Linked DNA regions of Homo sapiens: all the other regions are linked to region 2. Evidence: promoter capture Hi-C in 16 types of primary human blood cells and fetal thymus (Javierre and others, 2016). All regions are on one chromosome and are shown on one strand. Each heading gives the region's core, a stretch centred on a gene start or on the middle of the fragment in contact. The rest is flanking DNA. Distances are from core to core; before and after follow the strand shown. Region 1 overlaps ARHGEF16 (Rho guanine nucleotide exchange factor 16). Region 2 holds the start of TPRG1L (tumor protein p63 regulated 1 like). Region 3 has its middle 4.0 kb from the start of ARHGEF16.

Region 1 (3,886 bases), core at 967-3,466, 150 kb after region 2:
CTGTCCCCAAAGGCGGGCCCATTTGGACCTCCTGTCCTGGTGCCCTGTCCAGTTGGTGCCCTTCGCCCTTCAAGCTCCTTCCAGCTAAAACGACTGGGCCTCCACACAGGCCCGGGCCCCCGCTGCCGCACCAGCTTGCCCCTGGGAAGAAACTCAAGGACGGAGACTCAGGGGACAGGCACAAGAGCAAAGAGGGGCGATGCCTGGGGCCACCCCTTCCAAGGATGAGTCCCAAATCCGAGGCAGCTCTGCTGGTCAAGCTCCCAGCTGGGTTCATGAACTGTTTACTTTCACTAGGTCCCCCACCCCGTTCTGAGGGAACAGTCAAGGCCGGGGGGGGGCCAGCTGTGGGCTCTTGGCAGACTCCCTGGAAGGGGCTACCAGCCCCTCACCTCCCCATGACCCAGGCCTTGGTCCAGGGTGATCAGGATGAAGGGAGTTAACACTTGGTCAGAGCTAGGCCAGGGCTGCCAGGATTCTGCCCCCATGGGCGGCCACGGCCACCAAGGCTGGGCTTGGCTGGACCCACGATGGTCACCTGCTGTGTGAGGCGGTGGCTGGAGCCTCGTCCATCCTGCAGACCCTCAGAGCACCCAACCCGAGACCACATCCGTGTCTCCAGGCCGCCGCCACAGGAGGTCCTCCCAGCCCAAGAGCTCTGTCCTTCGGAGGACTCCCTTACCCAGCGTGGAGGTGGGCGGGAGTCCCTCCTCCTCTGCTCACGGGGCCCGACTGGGCCTGCCACCCACGCAGGAGCCACGCTTCCTGCAGGGAGAGTGTCCTGACAGCTGCTTGCCCTTGAGAATCCCCAGCAGATGGAGCTGCAGTCCCCGTGGACGAGGACCCAGCAGGTCATGGGAGGCCTCGGTTGCTGGATGAGCAGGGCCACGACATGCGTACGTGCCCAGGCCGGCCAGGCCGGTCAGCAGCTCATATGGGTGACTGCAGGTTCTGAGAAAGGTCTGGGAGAGCCGCCCACCAGCCGCTTACCCCAAATAGCGATGATTCCCCAGACAGTTCACTGTGAATGCCAGGAGCTGTCGGGGGCCCAGCTGGGGGAGGAGGCCGGAGCTTCCCGCCCCAGGGCAGCAATCTAAAGCCCTGAGGAGGTCAGAGGCAAACATGCAGCTGCCTGAGGCAGAGGGGACCGGAGGACACAGAGCTCAGAGAACACAAAGCCTGCCTGGCTGGGGGCAGAGCTGGGGGAGGGGCAGCCGCTATCCCAGACCCCTCCCCCTCCCCCAGCCCCATCCCATGCTGAGTCAGAGGTTGGGAGTTTCCCATAGCTGGTCCCTGGAGCTCTACAGGAAGCCCCTGTCTCCAGGGACAAGGCGGCTCCCTGCCCACCCTCAGGGCCCCAAAGTTCCGCAAGGGCACCCCACAGGCAGCAGATGGGTGGGACTCGCCAGGGGCGGGGCTGATATAAGAATGCGCCAGCAACCACCACTGTTGGGGCAGCCCTGTGCCAGGCACTACAGGCCCCTAATCATCTCCCAGCGCCACCCAAGCCCACGAGGGGACCAGAGGCACCGCCCCTCAGGTTAGCATTGAGGCTGAGGCTCAGGAGACTCGATGCTCCGGGGTCCTCCTGCATATAGGGAGCAGCACAGGGTCGAGACCACACATACCCCTGCCCAGGCACACACACCCACGCACACACACCCCTGCCCAGGCACACACACCCACGCACACACACCCCTGCCCATGCACACATACCTGTCCATGCACACACACATCCCTGCCCACGCACACACACCCCTGGCCAGGTACACACACCCACGCACACCCCTGCCCACGCACACACACCCCTGGCCAGGCACACACACCCACGCACACCCCTGCCCATGCACACACACCCCTGCCCACACACATACCCCTGGCCAGGCACACACACCCACGCACATACACCCCTGCCCACGCACACACACCTGTCCACGCACACACACCCCTGCCCACACACACATCCATGCACATACACCCATGCATACACACCAGGGTGCCGGATGCTCCCGAGCCACCCTCCGGGCCTTGGGGCCAGCCCACTCACACACACCCCTGACCACGCACACACAGCCATGCACAGACACCCTTGCCCACGCACACACACCTACTCACATACATCCCTGACCACGCAGATACACAGACATCCCTGCCCACGCACACACACCCACTCACACACACCTGACCGAAAACACAGCCACTCACACACACCCCTACCCACTCACACATAACCCTGACCACGCATACACACCCCTGCCCACGCACACACATCCCTGCCTGTGCACACACCCGTCCATGCACACACATCCATGCACACACCCGCGCACACACAACCATGCATACACACCCCTGCCCCACACCCATGCACACACACTGCTGCCCAGGCACACAAACCCATGCACACCTACACACACACATACCTGCCCACGCACACACAACCCTGTCCACACACACCCGTGCAGACACACCCGTGCAGACACCCCTGCCCATGCATACACACCCTTGCCCATGCATACACACCCCTGCCCCCACACACCCATGCATACACACCAGGGTGCTGGATGCTCCCGAGCCACCCTCCAGGCCTCGGGGCCAGCCCACTCACACACACCACTGACCATGCACACACAGCCATGCACAGACACCCCACCCCACACACACACCCACGCACACACACCCCACCCCACCCCACGCACATACCCCCGTGCATGGCTGCAGCTGCATGTCCAGCCTCTCTACCTCCAGGCCCTGCAACCAGAGCTCAGGTCCAGCCACCAGACACCTTTGGGTGGAACATGACCCAGAGCTGCAACTCGAGGCTTCCTGCCTACAGGTGAGCAGCTTGTGGCCACCACTGCCTGGATCATGCAGCCCTCTGTGCCTGGACGTCCTGGTGGGGTGGTGCTTGGCAGTGGGGCAGGGTTGTACCCCTGGGAAGTGCTCCACGTCTTAAGAACGACCAGGATGCCACAGCCCCAGTGCTTAGCCCGGCCCTGGGGCCAGCTCTTGGTGGCCTCAAGGACCCTCAGAGGTCATCACACTCCGCGGGAGCCAGCAGCTGCTCTAAACCATCCACATCAAGGTGCAGCGCAGGCTCCCAGGGGCCTGCTGATGACAGTGCGGTGCCCACGGGGGGAGGCACCTTCCTGGCAGAGGACCCTGTGTGGAAGGCTGTGGCGTGGCCTCACCTCTGACTGGCACCCAGGACATCCAGGATGTTGGAGAAGAGGTGGTGGTGCTCCATCTGGGTCACGGTCGCCCGCAGCTCCTTGGACTGCAGGAACTCCTCCACCAGGATGCTCAGGCTGTGCTGGTAGGAGAACTCCGACGTGAGGATCTCGAACATGGCCTGTGGAGAGGGGCCTAGGTGAGCCCCACAGTGACGCTGGACACGGGCGTGCCTCGGTGACCAATGCTTGGAACAGGAGGACGTGACCCGGGTGGCAGGGGCAGGTGGGGACAGGAACCCCAGACACACCCCTGGATGGGGCTGTCAGAATGGCCAGCTTGGAGATGCCAGCCCGACGTCCCTGGATGCCCCTGGCTGGGTGCCTTATGAGCCGGCTGAAGCTGGGCAACGACCCCCGTCCTTGTCAGAGAAGGGGGTGATGGCAGCCCCTGGACTCCGAGGATTCACCCGGTGACGTGAAGGGGCTCCGTCAGGGCCTGGCGCAGGTGGAAGCACAGCCCGGGGCTGTGTGAGGCGCTGGTCAGCGTGACAGGGCCTGGCACTGGAGGTGGCCGCAGAGGGATGGCTGGGTGGTGCCACCGTGGCTGCTGCCCCTCCCCGGGTGTTGCATGGCCCAGGCCATGGGGGACAGCCCTCCCGCCCAGGGCCCTTTTACCTCCTGCCTTTTCCGCTCCTCAGTGGAGAGCTGGTCCAGGA
Region 2 (4,220 bases), core at 1,462-3,961:
GTGTCTCCGTGACTGCGGGGGGTGTTTCCATCACTGCGGGGGGCGCGGCTATTTATGTGCCTGTCTTCTTACCTGACACAGAGATGCTGTCTTCTCATCTGCGCCAGCCATCGGGTGTTCTGTGAAAGTGGCATAGGGCACGTTGGTAGACCAGGGATTCCATCTGTTTATGAAGGAAGGACGACTTTGCTTGTCCCACTGAATTCGAATCCCAAAACCTTCTCGCCTGAAAAGTCAGAAGAAATAGCCAGACTTAGCATGGCAGGCCACAGTGCTCTCATGGACAATCTGACAGTCTCATCAGTTAGGAGAATATGACAGCAAAAAGCACACGTTTACAGAAAAGACCTATGACATATCACAATGGAAAACGGCTTGTAGTTTTTATTTTTGTTTTTATTTATTTTTATTTTTTGAGATGGAGTTTTGCTCTTGTTGCCCAGGCTTGAGTGTAGTGGCCTGATGTTGGCTCGCTGCATCCTCCACCTCCTGGGTTCAAGCGATTCTCCCAACTCAGCCTCCGGAGTAGCTGGGATTACAGGCATGCACCACCACACCCAGCTAATTTTGTATTTTTAGTAGAGACAGGGTTTATCCATTTTGGTCAGGCTGGTCTCAAACTCCTGACCTCAGGTGATCCGCCCGCCTCAGCCTCCCAAGGTGCTGGGATTACAGGCGTGAGCCACCGTGCCTGGCCGGCCTGTGGTTTTTAGTAGTAACTTCAATCTCCACTAACAATTGCTTTAAATACTGTGGGTATAAATATGACAAATTAGGTATATTTTGGTTATTAAATGTATTATTTTGGTAATCTTTACATGATTAAAAATTAATAAACAGGAATACTGGCTGGGCACGGTGGCTGACATCTATAATCCCAGCGCTTTGGGAGGCCAAAATGGGCGGATCTCTTGAGCCCAGGAGTTTGAGAACAGCCTGGGCAACCTAGCAAAACCCCATCTCTACAAAAAATACAAAAATTAGCTGGGTGTGGTGGCGGGCACCTGTAGTCCTAGCTACTTGGGAGGCTGAGGTGAGAGGATCACTTAAGCCTAGGAGGTGGAGGATGCAGTGAACCAAGACTGCACCACTGGTGCCTGGGTGACAGAGTGGGACTCCGTCTCAAAAAAAAAAAAAAAAGGGAATAATTATAGATAGGCTAGCCAAATGAGTGAAAAGGAAGTGTAATCTTCCTTTTCCTTATGTCATATTAAATGTTTTAACCAAAAGGTAAAATTTTTATTTTAGCTTCCTGAATCCCCCATCCAAATCTCTCCATCAAAAACCCAAGTTCTACAGCTTAACTGACTGTAGTAATGTTTAGGTTCCTCACGTCAGAAAATTATCCTACAGCAAAAAGATCAACTCCTGAAAGCTGGTCATTAAATATTTCCAAATTTGTCTTTTAGTGGTATCTATAAATTACAACGGGACCCTCCATTTCTCTTTAAAAAATTAGCCAGAGCAAGACTTGATGTGTCATATGCAATCTGTCCCTGGCTGGAGAAAAATGCAGAGTTTGGACTTTTCCTGAAGAACATCCAAGTTCCTTTTTAACACGCTGGGCTCTACTTCAATGCATCCTGAACTCATGTAAGTCTTTTTACTACCAGCCTAATAGCTGCCTTCTGTGCCAGAATTCCTTTTAATGCACTCAATTGCCCAGAAGTCGCTTCTTTTTAAGGAACTTCCCATTGATATTTGGAGCTGGAGCCTTTGTGCTTATAATTAATGACAGAGAAGACACACCGCTTGGGGGGCTGATTTAAAAGGGCTGAATTGTAAGGTCCACTCTGGTGCTTAGGTCCAGTGATACTGGACTCTGAACAGGCTTACTTGTTGAGCGATTTAGGGGGAAACTGGAATTCTCCGTAGGAAATGGTGTCTACTGCGTTGAGCGCTATCCGCACCACCTGCTGGCACTGGAGACTGATGAAGTCGTATTTACAGATAAGCAGGGACTGCTCCGTGACCAGCACCAGCCGCTCCTTCTCATTGTTCCAGTGATCCACCCTGTAGGCAGAGGAGGGGCCTCAGTCCACACTGGACGCGGCTGTCTCGACTTAGCCAAGGCCAGCCCGCCTGGAAGGGCAGCAGGGGCGGCACGGGGCGCCTGAGCGTGGCACGAGCACCCCGGGAAGTCCTCGCAAGGTGCTGCGCGGCGGCTCGGGGCGAGTCCCCCCACCAAGGAGAGCGCAGCCCCGGCTTACTCGGTAAGCAGCCACACTCCCTGGATCTCGCCGTCCTCCACGGGCCGCACCACCACGCGGATCTCCTCCACTGCCTGCTCGATGCTGCCGGGCTGGGCGGGTTGCGGGGTGGGGGACGGGGGCAAAGATCACAGGTCACAGCTCGCTCCCTGCGGGACCGCCCGGCGCCCGCCTCCGACCCCACCCGCCCCCATCCCGCCCCGCGCCCTCGGCCCCCGCCCCGGCCCTGGCCCCTGCCTCACCCGGAACACGAAGTACTCCTTGACGCGGGCGCGGCGCGTGGGGTCGTGGATGCTGAGAGGCCAGAGTGTCTGGCGCAGCGGCGTCCCCGCCCCCGGCCGCCCCCCGCCCGGGCCGCCGCCTGCCCCCACCTCCTCGCCGGCCGCCAGCACCGCCGTGGGGCTCGTACCGGCCGAGTCCACCGAGTCCCGCAGTTGCAGCATTGCCGCACCCCTTACCGACCCCGACCCTGACGCCGACGCGACCGCCGTCGCCGCAGCCACCGCCACCACCCGGCCGCGCCCCCGGCCCCGCCCCGCGGACCGCCGCGATTGGCTCCGCCTTGCCGGCCCCGCCTCTGGCTCCGCCCCTTCCCGCGTCCGCCGACCCTCGGGATTGGCTCTCCTCCTGCCGTTTTCCGCGATTGGCTCTGCCCCGCCGCCGTTCACAATCGCTCCCGCCCCTCGCCGGGCCGGAAGCGACCGTCACGCGCAGGCTCACTTCCTGTTTACACAACGAGAAGGGGCGGGGCCGAAGCCGGTTGCCAGGGTGTCGCGGAGCGGCTGGGAAGGAGGGGCTGGGAATCTTGGAGCCCCTTGGCCCGCGGGGAAAGCGGGTGACCCGCCCTGCAAGTGGGATGCCCCCTTCGGCCTTCTGGAGCGCAGGTGGGGGCGCGCGCCCATCGGGGGCTCGCACTGCACGGAGGGTCGCGGTGCCGGGGAGCTGAGGTTGGAGGATGCAGGGCGGCGGCCCTGGTGCACCGTGGGGGAGTTCGCACGCCGGGCAGCGATCTTCTGCCGGGACCTGGCGTTCTTCACACACGGCTTATTCGTGACGGATCCACAGAGCAATGCACTCTGAAGCCGGAGGGTAGAAAGTGCTGGAATGCGCGCCCGGGCCCAGGCTGTCGCGAGCCTTCAGCAAGCCAGTGCACACAGAGAGGGCTGCCCAGAGATCCCGGTCAGCGCTCGCAGTTCGAGGTGGAACATGTGTGTGCCCTGCGCTAGCCCCAGCTCCCGGAGGTGCCCCCAGCGCGTGTGGAGGGGGGCGGTGAACGGACCCGCAATCTGGTGGAGGCTGCGGGAAGGAGGCGCAGAGTCCAGGGGTCAGGGTTACCTTCGGGCAGGAGGACAGATCCCTCTGCTCGGAGGTGAGGAAGACACACGAGGCGAGGTGCACACAGGCGAGGAGAGTGAGATGGGGGGAGAATGAGGAGTTCAGGATACATCTGTTTACTTCAGTCAGGGAGTGGGGATGGAGCGGAGTATTTGTAAAGATGGACGGTTTAGAATCGCCGGGATGAGAACCGGGCAGGGAGCTGATCAGGGAAGGGCATGGGGATCTCTGAGCAGCTGGGAGACCCCAGGGAAGTTTGCAGTGGCGCCTCCCACGCGGCAGCTGGGGGAGTGGAAGAAACCAATGCTGGCTGGTCTAGATGGAGGAGTTTGCTGGGTAGCGGTGGTCAAAGACCAGAGAGAAAAGGGAGGCCAAAATCCTAGAGGGAGTGTTGCCCAAGAATGGTGGAGTGCAGGGATTCTGCCCCACTTGCCAGCAGACAGGCCAGGCTGCCAAAGTTGCATGGGCGCTGGCAGAAAGACCCAATACCCCTGGAGTCAGAGAGGAAAGACTACAACAGGAAACGGGCGACGCTGGTGTGCCCAGACGCATGTTGCACCACAGCGGGTGCACTACAAAACAGGACCCTGGATCCTGTGGACCAATGTGGTCTTTGTCCCACAGGGAGGCTGTCTCCCCGGCAAGGGTGCCCACTGCAAGCACAGGCGTGAGAAA
Region 3 (4,557 bases), core at 1,872-4,371, 180 kb after region 2:
GTCACCTGAGCTGGCGTCAGGACCTCTCTGTGCCTCTGTCACCTCTGCTGTAAATGAGGGCCTGATGCTGGCGCAGGAGATCGCCCTGGCATGAGGCCTAAGGGAGAGGTTGGAAGGAACCAGCTTGGAGACCTAAGGGGCTCGCAAGGAGAGAGAGACTCCGGGGAGGCCTGCCAGTGGGAGGCCTGCCAGTGGGGTCGGCCCGTGGCACTTCCTGCACCTCTGTGGTGGGATCCCGAGCCTGTGGCTCAGCCTGCCCTGGGGGCCTTCCCCTCCCACATTACTGGCAGGGGAGAAGATGTGGATCCCCCAAGCTTAACAGCCACTGTGCATTGCTGTAGGGTGGGCAGCGCTCTGGCCGAGCACCAGTGTGCCAGCCAGAAAGCACACCTCTATCTGCGGGAGCAGAGCTCCTTTCCTGCGGCTTGAGGTGGCCTGAGCTCCTGCGGGCCTTGCTTTGAGTTTTCCAAGCTTTTACTCAGCCACTGGGGCCACAGCACAGACAGCCCGTAGCCTTAGGTGGTACCTGAGGCCAGCAGCCCCTCGGGAGGCCTTTTGGCTCGACCTTCCAGGGTAGGTGTCCAGGGCTGAGGGTGAGCTGAGGCTGCTGGGCAGGTTTGTCCTCCCTGCCAGGCCGAGTGGGCGGTGCTCCCACCTGCTCCCCTCCCTCCCTGGGGCCCTAAGGAGCACACGGGGTGGAGGGAAGGCCATGACAGCCCTCAGTTCTCAGGCCCTCAACGCTGGGCTGCCCTGTTACCCACTGCAGTTCCATGGGTGTCCTCTCCAGCCCGTAGGCAGCTGGGAAAGGGCCCCAAGGGCGCGGCTGTGAGTGGGATGGAGGACAGAGACGCCTCTGCTGGGTGGGTGGAGGCCCATGGCTGGGGGGGCCGGGCTGGTGGGAAGAAGGTTGGGTTTGAGGAGCAAATGCCCCTCCTCCTTGTACCCTAAAATAGCAGGTCATTACTTCCCATTAAGCACCTACTATGTGCCAGCCTCATGCTGGGGGCCTTGCACGCGTCATCTTAGTGAATTCTTACAGAAAGCCCCTCAGATGCCCCCCGCTTAACTGAGAGGAGAAATGTTTTGCCCCTTGTTACCTGGCTGGTAAGTGGCCCAGCCACAGTTAGAGCCCAGGTCTGTCTGACGCCAAAGCCCAGGATCCCTAGTCATCATTAGGGACCATTTCTGGTTTACAAAGACATGCATATAGTATTTATATTTTTATATAAAAATATATAAAAGCAACCCCATGTATCTTCCCCAAATTGAGAATTTAAAACATGTCAGGTGTTTTGGCCATGACGAAGTAGTCGGTACCAGACTTGTCTGTCACCACAAACAACTCAAACATGGAACAAAAAATACGAGAAACAACTCTTTCTAACACTGGACAACAGGTGCAGAGACAGAAATTCCTGGAGAAAGAGGTAAATAAGCCTTTGGCCAAGAGAGGCTGGTGGCCTCACTGGGCTACAGGGGACAGAGTTGGGGAGCCAAGGAGGCCAAGGACTATGGAGAGAGTCCTGGAGAGAAGGCAGCAGTGCAGGGGAGCCCCGAAAGAGTCCTGGAGAGAAGGCAGCGACGTAGTGGAGCCCCCAAAATCCCCACAGGGGTCCACTTGAGCCTTTGGCTGAATACTGAACTGTGCATAAGCAGAGTAAGATCCCATGAAGCCAGGGACCAACAGCGACCAGGGAGCTCTGTGAGCAGAGTGACACCAGAGTTCATACCAGGCCAGGGGACGCTGGAACGTCAGCCACCAGGAAGGAAGCACCGTCGCTGACTATCCCTCGTTGACCTCAGCCGCTTGGGAGTCTGAGGTGGGAGGATCGCTTGAGCCTGGGGAGGACGAGTCTCCAGTGAGCTATGATCGAGCCAGTGTACTCCAGCCACTGTACCAAGACTCTGTCTCAAAAAAAGAATGTCTGAAAAATTTCCAAATGTGATAAAAACTTGTAGATCCACAGATCCAAGAACCTCAAAGCAATGGAGAATAAGTCCAAAGAAGTCAAAGCAGCATACGTACAAAGCAGACCCCACCACAGTACCTCATAATGAAATGGCTGAAAACCAGGGACAGAGGGAAAAAATCCTGACCACCCAGAATATTCAGTAGATACCAAAGAAGGCCATGTCCTAGGTGAAGGGCTGAAGTAATCCTAGGGTGACAGCTCCTCTAGACATGACCTAACAGAAGTTCAAAGCAAGTCCTGAGAGGACCAGGCTGATCCACAAGTACGTTAACTGTGCATCAGCATAACACTCAACATGCTTGAAAAGAAGGCCAGTAAAATCCAGAAACTCAAACAATTTGACATTTACGACCTCCAGCACCCAATGCAAAATTACACATTTACAACCTCCAGCACCCAATGCAAAATTACACATTTACGACCTCCAGCACCCAATGCAAAATTACACATTTACGACCTCCAGCACCCAATGCAAAATTACACATTTACGACCTCCAGCACCCAATGCAAAATTACTAGACATGTGAAGAAGCAGGAACAGGAACCTGTGACAAATAACTAGGAAAAAAATCAGTCAGTAGAAGCAGACCCAGAAATGACACGGATGACAGGATTCGCAGAGAAGGCATTTAAAACAACAATCAAAAATACCCCAAAGGATCAGCTGGGCATGGTGCCGCATGCCTGTAATCCCAGCACTTGGGAAGGCTGAGATGGTGAGTTGCTTGAGTCCAGGAGTTCAAGACCAGCCTGGGCAACGTGGTGAAACCCCATCTCTACAAAAAATACAAAAAATTAGCTAGGTGAGCTACTCAGGAGACTGGGGTGGGAGGATCACTTGAGCCCAGGATTTGGAGGCTGCAGTGAGCTGAGCTCGCACCACTGCCCTCCAGCCTGGGCAACAGAGCCAGACCCTGTCTCTCTCTCTCTATACACACACACACACACACACACACACGCGGACACACACGGACACACATATACACACACACACATATATATAATATATACACACACACCACCCAAGGATTTATAGGAAACGATGATCACAGTCAAAGGAGAGATGGAAAGTATAATAATGAATCAAATGGAAATCCTAAAGATGAAAATATACAGTGTAGGAAACAAAAAATCTATTGGATGAGATTAACAGCAGATGAAACTACAGAGGAAAACAATCAGTAAACTTGAAGCCAGGACAAGTTACTCAGACTGAAGCACGCAGAGGAAAAACCTAGGGAAAAGGCAGAAACCGAGCCTTGCCCACCTTGAGACGGTATCAGGCATCAGGCAGTCTAACAATATGTGTAACTGGAGGACCAGAAAGGAGGGAGTGGGGAGGGAAGAACATATGTTTAAAGCAATGGCTGGGTACAGTGGCTCACGCCTGTAATCCCAGAACTTTGCATGACTGAGGCGGGCGGATCACTTGAGGCCAGAAGTTCGAGACAAGCCTGGGCAACATGGTGAAACCCTGTCTCTACTAAAAGTACAAAAATTAGCCAGGCATGGTGGTGCATGCCTATAGTCCCAGCTACTTGGGAGGCTGAGGTGGGAGGATTGCTTGAGCCCAGGGAGGTCGAGGCTCCAGTGAGCTGTGATTGAACCACTGTACTCCAGCCTGGGTGACAGACCAAGACTCTGTCTTATTAAAAAAAAAAAAAAAGGAAGAATGGCTGAAAATTTTTCAGATGTAATAAAAACTCATAGATCCACAGAATCAAGGACCTTAAAATGAAGTAGAATAAGTACAAAGATGTCAAGGCAGCATACGTACAAAGCAGACCACACCAAGGTACCTCATAATGAAATGGCTGAAAACCAGTGACAGAGGGAAAAATCGTAAGGGAATAAAGACCAAAATAACTGCTGGCTTGTCATCAGAAACACTGAAAGCTGAGAGAACTACAACAACATCTTTAAAGTGCTGAAAGAAAACAAAACTGTCAACCAAGATGTCCATTTCTCTTGAAAATATCCTTCAAAAATGAAAGGAAAATAAAGACATGTTAAGGCAAACGCTGAGAAAATTCATCACCAGTAGACCCACACTATAAGAAATGTCACAGGAATTTTTTCAGGCGAAAGGAAAATGATACCAGATATAAATTCAGGTCTGCACAAGGAGTAGAAACCCACTGGAAATGGCAAATATGTCAATAAATGTGAGAGGCTTTTTTTCTGTGCTTCAAAACATTCCTTTTTTTTTTTTTTTTTTAAATGGAGTCTCACTCTGTCGCCCAGACTGGAGTGTAGTGGCACGATCTCAGCTCACTGCAACCTCCACTTCTTGGGTTCAAGTGATCCTCCTGCCTCAGCCTCCCCAGTAGCTGGGACTACAAGCACACACCACCATGCCTGGCTAATTTTTGTATCTTTTTAGTAGAGATGGGGTTTCACCATTTTGGCCAGGCTGGTCTTGAACTCTTGACCTTGTGATCTGCCCGCCTTGGCCTCCCAAAGGGCTGGGATTACAGGTGTGAGCCACTGCACCCGGCCCAAAACAGTTCTTTAAAAGATCAGAGACTAATGTGAAAATAACGACAGTGTATTATCAAATTTATATGTAAAAGTGAAATATATT

What was found. The method cuts DNA at HindIII sites, captures the fragments that hold promoters and counts their contacts. A CHiCAGO score of 5 or more calls a contact.
Region 1: a fragment that was not itself captured here is called in contact with the fragment with the promoter of TPRG1L in region 2 in 1 of 17 cell types (total CD4 T cells); the score reaches 5.9 in total CD4 T cells.
Region 3: a fragment that was not itself captured here is called in contact with the fragment with the promoter of TPRG1L in region 2 in 15 of 17 cell types (naive CD8 T cells, total CD8 T cells, naive CD4 T cells and 12 more); the score reaches 10.3 in naive CD8 T cells.

What each region holds. Positions count from the first base shown.
Region 1 is chr1:3,468,896-3,472,781 of GRCh38, reverse strand. ARHGEF16 (Rho guanine nucleotide exchange factor 16) reads right to left here. Exons shown (of 15, transcript NM_014448.4): 5 at 3,846-3,886; 6 at 3,189-3,349. Among named protein-coding and RNA genes, the nearest start is that of ARHGEF16, 16 kb to the right of the region's middle. RefSeq lists an enhancer at 590-1,215. The HindIII fragment of the contact is 7,512 bases long and covers 1-3,886 here.
Region 2 is chr1:3,623,506-3,627,725 of GRCh38, reverse strand. It overlaps TPRG1L (tumor protein p63 regulated 1 like), which reads right to left and starts at 2,711. Exons shown (of 5, transcript NM_182752.4): 1 at 2,453-2,711; 2 at 2,211-2,302; 3 at 1,837-2,013; 4 at 73-226. The coding sequence starts at 2,653. It also overlaps a transcript of MEGF6 not described here. RefSeq lists enhancers at 1,675-2,337, 3,318-3,437 and a silencer at 2,638-2,867. The HindIII fragment of the contact is 13,719 bases long and covers 1-4,220 here.
Region 3 is chr1:3,448,387-3,452,943 of GRCh38, reverse strand. No RefSeq gene overlaps it. Among named protein-coding and RNA genes, the nearest start is that of ARHGEF16, 4.0 kb to the left of the region's middle. RefSeq lists an enhancer at 1-197. The HindIII fragment of the contact is 5,295 bases long and covers 474-4,557 here.